Regions from separate parts of the Homo sapiens genome. Here region 2 is linked to region 1. Evidence: promoter capture Hi-C in human tissues and cell types (Jung and others, 2019). All regions are on one chromosome and are shown on one strand. The core of a region is centred on a gene start or on the middle of the fragment in contact, and the rest is flanking DNA. Distances in the headings are between cores, read along the strand shown. Region 1 holds the start of BUB1 (BUB1 mitotic checkpoint serine/threonine kinase). Region 2 overlaps BUB1 (BUB1 mitotic checkpoint serine/threonine kinase).

Region 1 (2,700 bases), core at 65-2,564:
TCTTATAAACTAGGGAAAAGGGGAGGTGGTGGAGAAGAAGCTGGGAGGGACAACAGGAGAAGTGGTGGTCTCATTCCATAGTATAAGCACATTTTTTCCAATAAGTCAACCTTAGCTTACTGTAACTTTTTCACTTTATAAACTTAGTATTTTAACTTTTCAAAAAACAAACAAACAAAAAACAAAAGAAACATCAGCCTATTACATATTTCCTCTTTAGACATCTGGACTCCTCTACAAAGAGGTGTCTATTTTTGATTTTATGGTGTCTAAGAACTTGGTCTCCCAGAGTGCCCTGTCCCCCAAAAGATGTTCAAAGCTGGCATTCTATAATCTACCCAAACTCTTCTGCTTTTGTGTTAATTACAGCTGGCTGCAGAGAGAGTCCAGTCCCGTGAGCCCCATCTTCCGCTTGAAGCTGTTTGACAGGTCCCCTGTGTGGCTCAGGGCCCAGCCTTTCAGATCAGTTCAATAAAACCCAGGGGTCTACTCCAAGGACACTAACCCATCACTTTCCAGTGCCTCGTATAATTACGCAGCCGACCCTAGAACGCCCTCCCCGCCTCCACGTCCCCTCTACATGAAGGCGCTAAGCCCAAAACTCCTCAGGTTTTTCCACAGGCCGTCGTCACTCCCTCTTTGCCACGGCGTTTGAGATTCTGGGCTAAGACTATTGGTTTCAGCATCTGGGATGTTTTCTCACAGCCGAGGACGCTGAATAGAAAACTGCCAGAAAGCGGGAGGGGTCCCCGGCAGCAGGTCCCGTTTTTTCTCCCCACCTGCCTCCCGGGTGCTGCGGCTTCCGCCACGACAGTCTCGACCCTGCACACGGATTTTTTTCCTCCGTTCCATGAACCAAACATAATGATTCTGGTTTACATATTTAAGCGAAGGGGAGAAGAAACGCGACTCTCAGGACCCAAGGGCTGAGGCAGGGTTTTTCTGTCTCAAAGACCTCCAGTTAAGACATTTTTCTCCTGCAAAGCCTTTCCTACAATGATGGCTTAATCGTGTAATTATGTAAACCAGTCACAACCTGGATAGCTAAAACAAAAAAACCAATTCCCTACGCCCGAGCCAAGCCTGCTCCCCCTCGCCGTGCCGCATCCCAAACACCCCGCGCTCGCTCAGCCAACGGCCAGGTTTCGGTTCAACCGAAAACCACGGGAAGTGGGAGGAGCTACTGGCTCAAGGGAGGGAGGTGGGACTTGACCTCCGAGCAACGGCCCCGGTGATTGGCCAACCTTCTGCCGCCGCCACCAATGGGCAGGCGCCCTGAAACGTTCGGCGAGCCGACTGCGGCTGCGCGGGGTATTCGAATCGGCGGCGGCTTCTAGTTTGCGGTTCAGGTTTGGCCGCTGCCGGCCAGCGTCCTCTGGCCATGGACACCCCGGAAAATGTCCTTCAGTAAGTGTCCGTCTGGTGGGGTGGGGAAGCCCAGGGGGCTGGGGCGCCTGGGGTTCGGGCCCGGCCCGCCCCAGACCTGCCTTCTTTTGCCCCCTTCGCCCCCTTCCTGGGTTTGGAATGTGTCCCACCCAGCAAGGCCGTGGGCTGCTTGAGAGCCGGGGAGGGCTCCGGCACCTTGGGTTCCGCTGAGGCCCGGCGCTTGTCCGCCCATCTGCGCCGCGGTGGCCGTTTGGAGCAATCTGGATAATTCGTTAGGCCCTCAGAGCTCTCGTTTATTCTTTGTAAGGAATCCCCTCCTGACAGTTCAACCTAACAAAAATCCTGAACCTTGTGTTTAGATTTTGTGATACGTTTTCAAAGTCACGTATTTAACAATTCGACTACAGTAGGGAACGAATTTAAAGTTGCTCTCCTATCCATAATCTCACTGCTATTTTTTAAAAGTCTTTGAATACAGGGTACTTTAAGAAAAAAAAATTGAAAAAAAATAGCTTTGCTCATTATTGAGTGATGTGTGCCAACCTGCTAACATCACTCACTTTTTACTTAAAGTTCCCACGCCTTTGTTTTATGACTTAGATGATTTACCCAGACTGTTACTTAAAGGCATTTAAAACAATTAAGTCATAGGTTCAGGAAGTAAAACTGGTCCGTTTTATCAGTTCTTTGCGATCAGAAGACCGAGATTGTTAAATGCAGTCAAAACAAAAATCCATTTGCTCTAAGACTTTTTCTGTAACCTTCAACCTAGCCAGCAAATTATTTTCTTTCAGAAGTCCCCCGCCCCTTTTTTAAAGGTAAAGCAGATATTCCTGGTCCTGTTTTGACTTACTAAAGATTAATGTGCTTTAATGAACTGGATGTTTTACTATTACAGTGCATTTAGGTCATTTTACTAGAGAAATGTGGTTGGTGTTAGAATATGAAATGTTTACCTTGGGCGAGCCTACTAGACATATTTTGGAAGAAAGGTTCTGAAATAGGGATTTGTCCCTCTGCTATAAGACATGAGAGACATTCAAACTTCAGAATTATTATTTTTTTTAGTTTTAAAAATAAGCAATGCGTTTATATGACTAAAAGAAGATTTAGAACAGTATTTACCGAGAACTCCTGTACCTGACTACTGTCCCACTCTGTCACATGTAACCGTTTTTCTAGTTTCTTTTTGGAAATATAAATATTTACATTATTATAATATATTAAATGTCTGCACGTTTGTATACATTTTTTGCCTTTACCACACATAAAATATAACAGTATATATATACGCTGCTCTTTTGCCTAACAATA
Region 2 (2,700 bases), core at 198-2,697, 38 kb after region 1:
TGCTATGAGAATGCTTTACATGATTGAGCAAGTGCATGACTGTGAAATCATTCATGGAGACATTAAACCAGACAATTTCATACTTGGAAACGGGCAAGTGTTATGCTTTTAACAGGGTTCTTCTCTTCCTATTTCCATAGCAGCCTTTCATCATTTGTGCTCATGCAGCCTGGCTTTGTTTGTGTTTAATATAGATTTTTGGAACAGGATGATGAAGATGATTTATCTGCTGGCTTGGCACTGATTGACCTGGGTCAGAGTATAGATATGAAACTTTTTCCAAAAGGAACTATATTCACAGCAAAGTGTGAAACATCTGGTTTTCAGTGTGTTGAGATGCTCAGCAACAAACCATGGAACTACCAGGTATAAAACTAAAGTGAGGGACTTGGAAATATTTTTCTGTGTTGCGCTTATCAGATTTTCAAAATGAATTTGGGGATCTAGGTAGTTTGAGGTGGTCTTTTGAGGAGCAGTTGAAGGAGAGATGAGCCTAAGGCCAACATGGCAGGGATAGAATTCTATTCCTGAAGAATACTCTGCTTTCTTATTAGTCCATTATAGATCCTGTTATCAGGAAAGGGGGGCAGATATATTCTGTGAGTTTGATCATAGGGAAGAGTATTTAATGATTAGTGAACCCTTCAGAAAGGAAGTCATGCAGCAAAGAGACAGCTTGGTTTATTGAGATCAAGGTAGGCCAGCCCAATTTCCTAAATCAGGGATAACAGGGAGACCTGCATGCCCACTCCAGGCAGAGTTGAGCACATGTTGGATATACCTGGGATGCTCTCAGGCAGGATGGTGGGTTTGACTGTAATAGATGGTACAGCCAGATTCCTAACTGGCCAGATCAAGAAATGGATCATTATTATTCTAATGGAAGACTGCTGAATTTTCAACCAACTAGAATATTAGGTGACCAGGGAGGAGAATGCTAATTGGGATAAATGAAATATTTTGAACCTGGGTTTAACAAAACCAACTGCCAAGTTCCCTGGTGAGAGCTATGTCTTTCCAGGAGCCCATGGTAAAAGGGGCAAAGATTTGGTGGGGGTGGGGAGGGGTCTTGTTTCTGGTATGTTGTCACTGCTAGTGAGGCCTTAGGAGATGGTCATCTTCTATCCTGTGGATGTGGATGGGGCTGGAGTGTTCTTTTCAATTATGAACATATCACACAACAAGAGGCCATGGGGGCGAGTTAGAGAACTACGACCAGAGTCCCAGGGGAGTGAGCTGGGAGGACTTCCAAGCTGTCTATGTGGAAGAGGGCTTAGAGTGTTGTGTTTGTCCTCTGTGTGACAGAATGAAGGACTTGAGAGGGACATGGTAGCTCAGGAGGGCAGAGCTTTTCAAGAGACTGGAAGCCTGTGGCAAAGCCTAGATATTCAGTAAGACATGTTAGTGGGGCGATTGAACAAATGCCTTCCAAAATGTTTTAAAAGTAAAATCCTGTGAGTATTTAACTTGCTGCCTAAGTTAGACAGGCATCTTGATATAGTCATGTGTAAATTACTATTTAAGTCATATATACCTCTATCTTCTTCATAGATCGATTACTTTGGGGTTGCTGCAACAGTATATTGCATGCTCTTTGGCACTTACATGAAAGTGAAAAATGAAGGAGGAGAGTGTAAGCCTGAAGGTCTTTTTAGAAGGTGAGTATTAGCATTGGTGCTGTAGTGAAAAGAGAATAACTAAAGTAGAATGTTGGGTTCCATCTGGCAAAAAAAAAAAAAGGATCTCTGCCACCGCATGGAAATCCTATGCCTTGGGCAATATGGTGACAGGACAGTCCTGGGCACTGGGCACAGGGAGCAAGCTGCATAGCTTTACCACTTCTCTCTCCCCACTGGGGCAGCTGATGTCCTCACTGAAAGCTCCTGGCCAAATGGTTGACATCCTGTACACACGCAAATGTTTCCACCCCTAATCACCTAATGTCACTGGACCTCAGGTTCTCACTGGTTTTTTCTTTTTTCTTTTTTTTCTTTTTTTTTTTTTTGGTCTATGGAAATACTGATCCTATTTTTGTCAGATATTTGTAAGAAGCGAAGGAAATAGTGTATGTGAAAGTGCTTCATAAATTATAAAGTAATATGAATAGCTCTCTCTCACAGGACAGTCCTAGCCCTGTGTTTCTTGGGCTTCTCAAAGATTTTTTTTTATCTATAAATCACAGTGAAAATTCATGATTAGGCAAGAGCTCTTCCTGTCAACATGGATGGCTCTCCTAACACAATGTGTGAACAAACTGTTGGAATGTTTTGTTTAAGCTGAGTATTTGGTACCTGCATATTCATTATATCACTTATACTTTCTTTTTTGAGGCATAAAAACATGCAGAAAAGTACACTCATCTTAAGTGTACAGCCTAATGGACTTTTACATATGTTTATATCTTCTTGAGAAAACGTAAGAGTAGGAACCTCATCTGTGAACCTCATCTCCCCCAGCCCCCACAAAAAAAAAAGAAAAATGGCAATAATTTTATGAAATGTCATATACTGTACATAAGTAAGGTTAGGTTCAGGCCCTGGAGGAAAGCTTATAACAACTATTCTTTATTCTGCATAATGAGCCCTCATGTTTAGTAAATACTTTATTCCATCTTTGGCTCAAAATTGAAGGAACAGATAGTTTCATCTCTGACCACCAGTGTGAAGAAGAGCTGGAAGTTAACCCTCAGCAGGCCTGATG

The links. Contacts are between HindIII fragments. The study calls those that stand out against the background at their distance.
Region 2: a contact is called between a fragment that was not itself captured here and the fragment with the promoter of BUB1 in region 1, in 1 of the 25 tissues and cell types used here (pancreas).

Annotation. Positions count from the first base shown.
Region 1 is chr2:110,676,677-110,679,376 of GRCh38, reverse strand. It overlaps BUB1 (BUB1 mitotic checkpoint serine/threonine kinase), which reads left to right and starts at 1,314. Exons shown (of 25, transcript NM_004336.5): 1 at 1,314-1,407. The coding sequence starts at 1,382. It overlaps LOC105373554 (a long non-coding RNA gene), which reads right to left and starts at 1,165. Exons shown (of 2, transcript XR_923189.4): 1 at 780-1,165. RefSeq lists enhancers at 295-384, 645-704, 217-1,137, 1,138-2,058 and a silencer at 1,215-1,614. The HindIII fragment of the contact is 12,584 bases long and covers 1-2,700 here.
Region 2 is chr2:110,638,700-110,641,399 of GRCh38, reverse strand. It overlaps BUB1 (BUB1 mitotic checkpoint serine/threonine kinase), which reads left to right. Exons shown (of 25, transcript NM_004336.5): 22 at 1-93; 23 at 195-366; 24 at 1,552-1,658. Among named protein-coding and RNA genes, the nearest start is that of SNORD132, 18 kb to the left of the region's middle. The HindIII fragment of the contact is 3,511 bases long and covers 1-2,700 here.